Regions from separate parts of the Homo sapiens genome. Here region 2 is linked to region 1. Evidence: promoter capture Hi-C in 16 types of primary human blood cells and fetal thymus (Javierre and others, 2016). All regions are on one chromosome and are shown on one strand. Each heading gives the region's core, a stretch centred on a gene start or on the middle of the fragment in contact. The rest is flanking DNA. Distances are from core to core; before and after follow the strand shown. Region 1 overlaps BAZ2A (bromodomain adjacent to zinc finger domain 2A). Region 2 holds the start of LRP1 (LDL receptor related protein 1).

What was found. The method cuts DNA at HindIII sites, captures the fragments that hold promoters and counts their contacts. A CHiCAGO score of 5 or more calls a contact.
Region 2: the fragment with the promoter of LRP1 here is called in contact with a fragment that was not itself captured in region 1 in 1 of 17 cell types (monocytes); the score reaches 5.2 in monocytes.

Annotation. Positions count from the first base shown.
Region 1 is chr12:56,608,995-56,614,583 of GRCh38, reverse strand. BAZ2A (bromodomain adjacent to zinc finger domain 2A) reads left to right here. Exons shown (of 29, transcript NM_001300905.2): 4 at 446-631; 5 at 1,351-1,569; 6 at 2,338-2,811; 7 at 2,951-3,011; 8 at 4,067-4,175; 9 at 4,369-4,470; 10 at 4,638-4,848. Among named protein-coding and RNA genes, the nearest start is that of BAZ2A, 19 kb to the left of the region's middle. The HindIII fragment of the contact is 1,811 bases long and covers 2,109-3,919 here.
Region 2 is chr12:57,125,540-57,131,128 of GRCh38, reverse strand. It overlaps LRP1 (LDL receptor related protein 1), which reads right to left and starts at 2,646. Exons shown (of 89, transcript NM_002332.3): 1 at 2,098-2,646. The coding sequence starts at 2,164. RefSeq lists an enhancer at 2,986-3,639. The HindIII fragment of the contact is 5,123 bases long and covers 1,028-5,589 here.

The DNA of each region.
Region 1 (5,589 bases), core at 1,765-4,264:
GGCAGAGCATATCATTATTTGTCTACTCAGTTTCCTTTTTTTTGTTGTTTAGCATTAGTACACGTGACAGCCCCTCTCATCTTTTCCCTCAAAATAGATAAAAGCTTAGCTTCCAGTTGATTCCTGGTACAAGGGTAACCACCACTCTGTAAAATTACAGGATGTTTTCTCGTTTCCCAATGGATGGAGGAGATATCTGAGAACATGATAGAGATGTTGTATCAGACCCCACTCTCTTTTCCTCTCTTTGCCTGCTGTAGGATTGATTTTACCAGCACATCTCTGCTCAGAGTATCTTGATGTGATCGGTTCCCAGCAATGAACTGGCCGCAATAAATGTTGAATGAATGAACATCCTTCTAGCAAAGATTGACTGCCTAGTATAGCTAAGTGAACCAATATAAGGCACTGATTTTGACTTTTGGTCTCTCCTGTGATTTCCTAGAACTGAAGATGTGTGGCTACAATGGCTCTGTCCCTTCTGTGGAATCGTTACACCAAGAGGTCTCAGTCCTGGTCCCTGACCCCACAGTGAGCTGTTTAGATGATCCTTCACATCTTCCTGATCAACTGGAAGACACTCCAATCCTCAGTGAAGACTCTCTGGAGCCCTTCAACTCTCTGGCACCAGGTAGGTTTGGAGGCTATGTCCCTTTAACTTATCCATGCAGAGTAGCCAAACTTTACCTGAAAGAGACAGTAAAATGGGAAAAGTATTAGGCAATCAGGGGCACTGGGGCTTCCAGGTAGGCCTAAGGCAGACCACAGTTACATGCCACAGGACTTGGTGCCCTAACTGAATTCTGAGCTGAATTGGTTCATGTCCCAGGTTCTTTCCCAGTATTCCTTTTGGCCAAGAGCTCTGGGCTGTAATAATTCACTGGGTAGGGACTTATTATCACACAGTTGATCTTTCTGGGTTCTGACAAACTAGGAAGAAAACATTTGTCAGTGAGCAGTTACCTTTTACTCCACTGAAGTACAAGAAAGACATATTTTATGATAAATCCTAGAATTTTGCATAGGTCTCTGGGTAGATAATACCACCAATGCCTTTCCTTTCATTTTCACCTTGTAGAGATGAGGTCTTGCTATGTTGTCCAGGCTGGTCTTGAACTCTGGCCTCAAGCAATTCTTCTGCCTCGGCCTCCCCTCAAACTTTTATGATCCCTATAATCTCATGACTACTCTTTCAGGGAGAAGGCTTTACTTGTTACCTAACTTAATATTAGGAAGAATCTTCACATTGTGGGAACTAGAATTGGATGTTTTCTGACCAGTGTTTCTTAAATCTTGCTTTCTGATTTTTTTCTCATTATCCTGCTCTGATTTTTCTACCCTTGTAAACAGAGCCAGTGAGTGGAGGACTATATGGTATTGATGACACGGAGCTGATGGGTGCAGAGGACAAGCTGCCTCTTGAGGACAGCCCTGTGATTTCTGCCCTTGATTGCCCTTCCCTCAATAATGCTACTGCCTTCAGTCTCCTGGCAGATGATAGTCAAACATCAACCTCTATCTTTGCCAGTCCCACCTCTCCACCTGTCCTAGGGGAGTCTGTCCTGCAAGGTAAGTGACGGTAGGTAGGACAAAGAAAGACCTTTACCTGAGAAAAGATGAGAGAATAAGTTTCATAGTTAGGGCCTTAAGAGTGGGAAATCTGGCTGGGCGCAGTGGCTCACGCCTGTAATCTCAGCACTTCGGGAGGCCGAGGCGGGTGGATCACCTGAGATCAGGAGTTTGAGACCACCTGGCCAACATGGTGAAACCCCGCCTCTACTAAAAATACAAAAATTAGCCAGGTGTGTTGGCACATGCCTGTAATCCCAGCTACCTGGGAGGCTGAGGCAGGAGAATCGCTTGGCCCCAGGAGGCAGAGGTTGCAGTGAGCCGAGATTGTGTCGTTGCACTCCAACCTGGGCAACAGAGCAAGACTCCATCTCAAAAAAAAAGTAGGAAAGCAAGAGCACCTTGCTGGGAGCTGAGGGGCTATGGGATAGTGTATGGTGGAACTAAAAGAGGTATAGGCTGCTATACTCCGACCTGTGCCCTCTGCTTTGAAGAACTTGTGAGACTTGGAATTTGTAGGGAGAAGGAGGCTAGAAGCTTTATTGGCACCAGGTAAAAGGTATTTCTTCACACAATGACATCTGTAGCAACTTTACCCTTTAATCCTCATGATTGGTTGGGAGAAAAAGCTACTTCTTTTTCCAACCCTAGGGAAGACCCCTTGAAGTAACCCTGTTTAGCTTGGTCCAGGGTTGACTGAGTAGATTCTCTTGTTTTATGTGATGCCTTTTTTTTTTTTAAAGCCTATCCTGTCCCTTTGGATTCTAGATAACAGCTTTGACCTGAATAATGGTAGTGACGCTGAACAGGAAGAAATGGAAACTCAATCTTCAGACTTCCCACCATCCCTGACCCAGCCAGCTCCTGATCAGTCATCCACTATTCAGCTACATCCAGCAACCTCACCAGCAGTCTCGCCAACAACCTCCCCAGCAGTCTCCCTAGTGGTTTCTCCAGCAGCCTCCCCAGAAATCTCTCCAGAAGTTTGTCCCGCAGCTTCTACAGTTGTCTCTCCAGCAGTCTTCTCAGTGGTCTCTCCAGCTTCCTCAGCAGTCCTCCCAGCAGTCTCCTTAGAAGTCCCGTTGACGGCTTCAGTGACATCCCCAAAAGCCTCTCCCGTAACTTCCCCAGCAGCTGCCTTTCCAACAGCCTCCCCAGCAAATAAGGATGTCAGCAGCTTTCTAGAAACCACTGCTGACGTGGAAGAGATCACTGGAGAAGGACTCACTGCTTCTGGTAGTGGTGAGTATCCAGATTCTATTCTATCCCTGTCTGGTTCCAAGAAACTTTTCTGTCCCATGTTGTAGTTAGCCTTTCCCTATTGGCCTATTGTTTAAATATTTTGCTTGAACTCTTAACTTGGGTATCCCTTCCTCCCAAGGTGATGTCATGAGGAGACGTATTGCTACCCCAGAAGAAGTTCGTCTTCCCCTCCAACATGGGTAAATGCTCTAGTTTGCTACATTTATTGACCTTGACAAGTTTAATGCACAACTCTAGAAAGAAGGGAATGCCTCTTTTCCTCTGAGGTGGGGGAGGAATGGGCCAGACAAGAGTAGATTACAGGACAGTTATCTGCAGTGATAATGTTTCTTGGCATGAGATTCCTAGGTTTTCCTTCTTCTCTCAAGGTCTGTCTTCCATCACCTATTCTTTTTTCATCTTGTAGTGACTCAATTTTGCCCAAGGAGCTCCAGCTATTATCTTTTCCAAACCCTAGGGCTCACATCCAAACCAGCTGGCTTGTCCTATTTCTGTGGACAAGGGATAGTAATGAATGAGGAGTGACTTAGTACTAATGAATTGAGGTGGTTTTGTTGTTTTAATGCTCTTAGGAGAGGTAAGGGCAGGAACAGTACATGACCAAAATGAACAAACTAGCTGACACCAGGGCCTTGTGGAAATAACTGCCTTCCTGGATCTTCCCCACCCCTGCCCCTCAAGGCTACTTGTGGTCACCAAGTCTGAGTACTGCTTAAAATTTTGAGAGAAAGATTAGAGTTAGTCTTAGAACTAACTCTGACTAACTTTGTGTTCTGCTCAGAACACAGAGTTCCTAACTAAACCCTGGCATATTGAGTCTTTTCATGGAATCAGCAGCAAATTTATTTTTCTGCTTGCCTCCCTGCCCTTTGTCTTCTGTCTTTATTCCCCTTAGGTCTTTATCCTCTTTACTGGAAATCCAGTAACTGCCCTGAATGGCTCAGGGAGGGGTTTCTGGCAGCTTATCTCACTGATTTTGTAAAGGAGGGATGGAGATCTCTCTGAGCTTGTGCAGTTTGGTGTAGTGCTTTTCTCCTAAGGGCCTTGATGTATTTGCTGGAGCTCAAGTCAGCCTTCTAGCCAAGCTTATCTCTCTTGGTGCTTTTGCATCTGCATGCAGTTCTAGAGATACAAATGTGGGGAGGGCCATCTGCTCAGAGGGCTTCGCGCTTAGGTGGCATGGGAGTGGGTAGGGGTGTGACCTGGCGGCAGGGCCCATGTGCTTCTCTGGCAGGTGGCGGAGAGAGGTGCGCATCAAGAAGGGCAGCCACCGATGGCAGGGGGAGACCTGGTATTATGGCCCCTGTGGGAAGAGGATGAAGCAATTTCCAGAAGTGATCAAGGTAATGTAGCTTTTTTTAAAGGACTGCTTTCTTGGGCTCAGTGGACTCCTTTCCACTGCCCAAGACTCCGTTCTTGGGCTCAGTGACAACAGGCTGGCATTGTCTGCTCTGGGCCTGTTCTGCTTATGCCTTTGCTGGCCAAAGACATGGTAGGATCCAACTTTATTAATGTTACTTTACTTCTTCCTCTTAGTACCTGAGCCGCAACGTGGTACACAGTGTCCGCCGAGAGCACTTCAGCTTCAGTCCCCGTATGCCTGTTGGAGATTTCTTTGAAGAAAGAGACACGCCAGAGGTGCAGACCCAAGGGTTAAATATGCTTTTGTCCCTGAGGAAGAGTTGGTGGACAAGCTGCAGCTTCCTCTCGTGGGGTTTGAAGGTTCTGGGGCATTGAATGGTTCCGAGGGCCTCGTGGCCTGCACTGATTCCTTACTACTGTAACAGTCTCCCTTGCTACCTTAGGGCTTGCAGTGGGTGCAGCTCTCAGCAGAGGAGATCCCGTCGAGGATTCAGGCAATTACTGGCAAACGGGGTCGACCTCGAAACACTGAGAAGGCTAAGACTAAGGAAGTCCCCAAGGTGAAACGGGGTCGAGGTCGGCCACCTAAGGTCAAAATCACTGAGCTATTGAACAAGACAGACAACCGCCCCCTAAAGAAACTGGAGGCCCAAGGTACAGTGGTATTTCTTACTTTGGGATTCTGCTCCCTCCATGAGGTATCTAAAATGTTGATGAATTGCTAATACCTGGATTTCCCAGGAGTGTAACTAACATTATCTGGGAAGAATGAATCTGAATCAGCTTCTCCTTGGAATCCAGCATCCTAGTCCCAGCGCTTGGGAATACTACTTTTCCAGCCATGGTCTTTCTTGAGTTGCTGTTACCAGTGAAACCTTGGGCTGCCCCCAGGTGTGTTTAGCCCAGAGGAGAGGACTTTCTTGCCCTTTCTTTCCATCTTTTAGCTCCTTATCATATACTGGTTCAGTTGTACCCTTTTACCTTACCCATTTCTACTATCATGGAGGTTCAGAATTCACATCTGAATTCAAAAGATAATTGGGAGCCAGGCATGGTGGTGTGTGCTTAATAATCCCAGTTACCCAGGAGGCTGAGGCAGGCAGCAGAGGATCACTTGAGCCCAGGAGTTTGGAGGCTACAGTAAACTTCAGTTGTGTTATTGCATTCCAACCTGGGCAACAGAGCAAGGCCCTGTTTCTAAAAAAAATAATAGGCCGGGCACAGTGTCTCACACCTGTAATCCCAGCACTTCGGAAGGCCAAGGCGGGCGGATCGTGAGGTCAAGAGATTGAGACCATCCTGGCGAACATGGTAAAACCCCGTCTCTACTAAAAATACAAAACAAAAAATTAGCTGGGCGTGGTGGTGTGTGCCTGTAGTCCCACCTACTTGGGA
Region 2 (5,589 bases), core at 1,397-3,896, 520 kb before region 1:
TTCTCTGGAAAGTAAACAAGAAAGTTCAATGTTGATGGACCCTGAGGCAAGAGGGCAGGGGTTAGGGATAAGGGATCCCCTAGGCTGCCTCTGGATAGAGTTGAACTTACATTTCTATGCAATTCCCCTTTCTCACCACCCTGTACCCAAGAGTGGGGTGGAGCTGATTATTTATATTCCCACTCCCAAGGCAGAAATATTGGTGTGTGTTTGGGGAGGGGTCCTCTCCTGGGGCTTTGGATAGTTTGATCTGAGCTGGAGATACAGAGGGGGCGTGGGTGAACATTTTAAGAAAGGGTAGGGAGATAGTTAAGGAGAACATGTCCAGTCTCTCTCTTCCACTAACTTGGTGTGGCAAATAGAACTCCTTTAGAGCCCTGGGAGTGATGCTATCTGGGGTCCCTTCCTGACCTTCCCTGCTCTCCACAGAAACCCTCTTGCTTCTGCCTAACTCTAGCCACCCTCCTTCAAGGGGCTCCTGATGGGTCTCTCTCTCTCTCAAATTTTTTTTCTATTCCTCCCAGAAGCGGCTGCAACCCCAATCTCCCTGCCTCGATTTCCCTTCTCACCTCACAGGGCTGAGAACAAGAGAAAAACACATGATAATGACAGGAGTTATAGGCAGAAGCCGGCTGTGCGGCATCTGGAGGATATTCAGGAAAAGCCCCTCTCCTCCTCCGGGGCAGCTAATTGGTGGGGTGGGGGTGGGGGGTAGAGAGTCCCCAAGATGGCACAACTGAGGGACACTAAATATGTTTTTTGGGGACACAGCTGCTTCCTGACCCTGTAAGTCTCCTCCCCCAATTGAAGCAAGTTAGGGAGAGGGAGGGAGATAATCTGGTTTCAGAGAAAAACTTTCCCAATCCCAATCTGGCAAGACAGAGGAGGGGGTGTATGATGGTATCCAGCCCAGTTTTGTCTTTGGATGAGAGGGCTAAGATGACAGGAGGGGATGAGATCCCACCCCTTCTCAAATCAGGGACCTAGCCCAGCCCAACCCCATGACCCCAGCTTAATGCTTAAAGCTTGGGCAAGACTTGAACCAGTGACTCACAAGTAGGAGAAAAAAACAGCTGACAAAAAAAGGGAAGAGAGGCACCCCATTTCCCCAAAAGGATGCAGTTCTAGCCTAAGCCTAACTCTGCAATATACAAAGTGTGTGTGTATGGGGTTTTGGGCTTGGAGGGGTGCAGGGAATAAACAGATTTACTAAAGGAGTGTGGGGGCACAGCCATAATCCCCATCCAACCTCCAACTCTCCTTCCAATCCAAACTGTGATGAAGCCAGAAGTCAGGAAGAAGGCAGCCTCCCCCACCCTCCTACCCCAGCATTCCAGGCCATTCTCCAGTCCCCTTCCCCAGTGATGACATCTGACGTTTTTTCATCTCAAAGCTCCCAGGAATTAAGAAGGAAAATTCAAAGTCACATAGTATGGCGAGCTCCCCCTCTCTGCCCCCCAACACAGCCCTACCCCAGGCTACTGACAGAGGCCCTGAGAGGGGGAAGAGCCTACTTCAGCACCCAGGCCTCCAGCCGGGGCTCTGGGGTCGATTCCACGCCCAAGCAGGGGGCCCTCCCTCTCCCCACCCACAGCCTTCCCGGGCCTGCCTGCCCTCTGCCCGGCAGGGTACCCCTGGCCTGGCTCCCCTTTCGAGCTACAGAGGCCAGTGCAAAAGCCACCCCCCCCACCCCCACCCCCTTTTGCAGCCGAACATTGCAAATCCGGATTCCTTCACAATTCAGATGGGGGGTGGGGGGTTGTGAGGATGTAGGGGAGGCGGAGGCCCTCCCCGAACAGAGATAGGAAAAGAAGGCCTCTCCTCCCCAGGATCAGAAAAATGGGGAGCCCTCTTCTCTCTACCCAGGCCTCTGGTCTTTGTTTGTGCTGGGGGGCCCCGGAAGCATCATTTGCCCAGGGCCCCCATCCCCCAAATCGGACCCCATCCCCGCCCCCAGTCGGGCCGCTGCTGTGTCAGCTGGACTGGGATAACAAAAGGCACCCCCTCCCGCGTCTCCCTTCCCCATCCGTATGCAGGAGTGGGGGCTGGGGAGAGGGTGCCCCCAGGGGTCCAAGGGGGACGCGGAATCTCACTCACCGTCGATAGCCGCCGCGACCAGAGCTGAGAGCAGGGGCAGCAGCAGGAGCAACGGCGGGGTCAGCATGGTGTGGGCTGATGCAAGCAGCAGCCCCTTCCCCTCTGGTCCTGCTACTTCTCTCCTTCACCCCCCCCAGTTGGGGGGTCCCCCTTTTCCTCCTTTCCCCCTCCTCCTTCTCTGTTCTTATTCTTTCCTTCGGCAAAGCGCACCAGGGGCGTGGGTGAAGAGGTAGAGTTCCGAGCCCCTTGGGGAGGGCCTGCTGACGGGGGTGCGCCCCCTGCCCCGAAATCCAAACCCTTCACCCCACCCCCCCGCTTCACTCCTCGCTGCTCTTTCCCCCTCCCCGGGCGAAGCTCACAGCCCCATCTCGGAGCCGCCTCCGGCTGCAAAAATGCACAATTGGGAGGAGGCGGGGAGGGGGGGTGGGGGGCGTGGACCGGGTAGGGGAGCCTTTGGAGGGGGCTTGATGGAGCTCTGGGGGCTCCCCTTGTTTCCGCCTCCTCAGTGCATGGGCCTGGAGCTCGCACCGCTGTTCCCCGGACTGAAGTGCCGAGGGGGGGGCTGATGGGGGAGAGGGAGGGGACGGGTTGAGGAGGGAGGGAGGGAAGGGGCGGGGAAAGAAAAAAGGTTGGTGGGTGGGGGGAGAAAGAGCTACGCGGCAATCCAGTGAGTGCGCATGCGCCGATTTGACGCGCTGCCCGGGGGAGGGCGACGCGGACCCGCGACAGGGTTCGGAGTTCTGGAAAGCGGTCCAAGAGTGAGGGTCCCGGGGACTCGCTGGCTAGTTTGGGGCCTGGGGCGCCCTCTCCCCTGGCTGGGCCCTCCTCCCTGGTGCTCCAGAGAGCAGAAGGGGTCGAGGGTGGGATTGGGCAGTGGGCGGAGAGCTGAGCGGCTCCCCTTTGAAACTCAGTGTCATACTCTAGGATTTCAGGCTCCCTCCGGGGGCGTCCGGGACTCAGTGGTCTGGGCCGAGGCTCGATTTTCTAGGGGAACCCTGAAGGTGCCTCCTCTGCCCGGGGTGGGGACAGGGACCGCCAGTCCGCGGGGAAGGTGCAGGGAAAGGCTGAGCTTTGATTTGGAGACTTTGGAAGACCGGACTGGGATTGGGGCCTGCGAAGGAGGGGGCGGGGTTGGGGAGGGACCGCGAGGACCCGCCCCCACCTCGCTCCCGGGCTCGGAGTAAACAGGGACACCCGAGGGGACACGCCGGAGCTTGTCCGCCCGCGTGGGGCTCGGGGATGGAGCCCACCTTAGTACCCGCCCGCCCTGCTCGCCCAGCCCTAGGCGCGGGAGGGGCAGGCCCTGGTTTGGAGGGAGGTGAGTCACCAGCGGGTGGGGTTGAGGAAAGGCCACCCCCTTTCGCCCAAGAAGTCGGGGCTCATTTATTTTTCTGTTTTTTTTTTTTTTTTTTTTTTTAATACCTTCTGACTGGCTTGCCATCAAGTTAGGGTTTTAGATTCCGAGCGCCAGGATTTGGAATAAGATGAGGGACTCTGGACCTTCGTTTCCAGGCCTCGGGTTCCAAGGAGGTGTCTGCTGAGCGCCGGACCTTTGTCCCCAGGCTCAGCCCACACGGGAATGATACTTTGCAGAAGGCAGGCGCCAGGCGGTTCCCAGGGGCCAGTGAACGTGCTTTTGGTCACTGCCCCCTTCTGGGCGGCGTTTTATGGCTGTTACCTTAGTGTCTGACTTTCTAGGTGTCTGCATGTCAGAGTTCAAGGAGCGGGGCAGACGACGTCGGCTGCCAAAAATTGACGCTGGAGAGGAGGGACTGTTCCCCCTTTTACGTTCTAGTTACGGAAAAGTCCCCACTCCAGTCTGTCCTTGGCAGAAACAGGAGCAGCACGAAGGACTTGCCTCCTAATGACAGTGAGCTCAACCTTTAGCTTCTTCCAGCCGGCTTTGCTCAGCGCGGTGGCCACCTGCCTTTAGTCTCCTGGGCTAGAAACCTCAGACTTTATGCCAACTCAAGGGGGCCTTTCCTTCCTATATCCAATCTTGCCAGCCTGTGCTCCAGGCTTGTCATTTTTTTCCTCTGAAGTATATCTCAGATTTCCTCCATTTCCACTGCCAGAGAGTTGCTCCAGGCAGGAACGGGGTCTTATTTCTCCTTTTATCCAGCTCCCATGGCCCAACACAATGTGAGACGCACTATGCGGACTCACCAAATGCCTACGAGGTTCCTCCCAGGGCCCCTCCCAGTATTGGGATCCAAGTGAAATCAGGTCGAAACAGACTTTAGACAGCTTGACAGCTTTGAGAGGAAAACGGTATCTGGAGCAACCACATGTAGCCTGAGGGCTTGAAGGGGCTTTCCTCCCTCCCCCTACCCATCTGTCAGGTGAATCTTCCAAAAACTGCTTTCCCGGTGTCTCTTCCTTGCTGGGGAACCTCTAGTGGGTGTCTATAGACCAGTCAAATGTGAACTCCTCTTCAGTCATGGCTTTCCAAAACCTGGCCTCAGTCAGCATGCACTTCTCACTTGCAACCTCCCATCCCCTGCTGTCTCCTGAATGTGAATGTGTATTTTTATTAACTTTATATTGTTAAAAAAAAAAGAAAGAAAGAAAAGATAATACCTAGTGGTTAAAAAAAGTACAGGAAGGTAAAAAGTAAAAGGAAACTTGATGCTCTCCACACCCCCATTTTTCAGCTGCACCCTCAGAGTAACTTCTACTAACAGTTCTTCAGGTCTCCCCTACCAGCAGAGGTTTCCCCCCCGCCCAAGACGGAGTCTTGCCCCGTTGCCCAGGTTGGAGTGCAGTGGCCTAATCTCGGCTCACTACAACCTCTGCCTCCCGGGTTCGGCGATTCTTCTGCCTTGACCTCCCAAGTAGCTGGGATTACAGGCACACGCCACTATACCCAGCTAATTTTTTTTGTATTTTTGGTAGAGATGGGGTTTCACGATGTTGGCTAGGCTGGTCTCGAACTTCTGACCACGTGATCTGGCCTCCTCAGCCTCCCAAAGTGCTGGGATTACAGGCGTGAGCCACCGTGCCCGGCCAGGAGAGTTTTTAAAACAGTAACATACAGGCCAGGCGTGGTGGCTCATGCCTGTAATCCCAACACTTTGGGAGACGAAGGTGGGAGGATCACTTTTCAGGAGTTCGAGACCACACTGGCCAACATGGCGGAACCCCATATCTACTAAAAATACAAAAATGAGCCACGTATCGTGACGCATACCTGTAATCCCAGCTACTGGGGAGGCTGAGGCACGAGAATCGCTTGAACCCAGGAGGTGGAGGTTGTGGTGAGCCGAGATCGTGCCACTGCACTCCAGCCTGAGCAACAGAGGGAGACCCTGTCTCAAATAAATAAATAAATAAAACAGTAACATACAAATATAAGTGAATATCCTTTAAAACTATAAAGAAACTCATATGATATATAGTGTTCTGTAACTTGCCTTTTTTTCAATTAACTTAGCTTGATCCCTTTCCATACCGTATGAACGCATTTAGCTCACCCTTTGATCTTGGCTACTT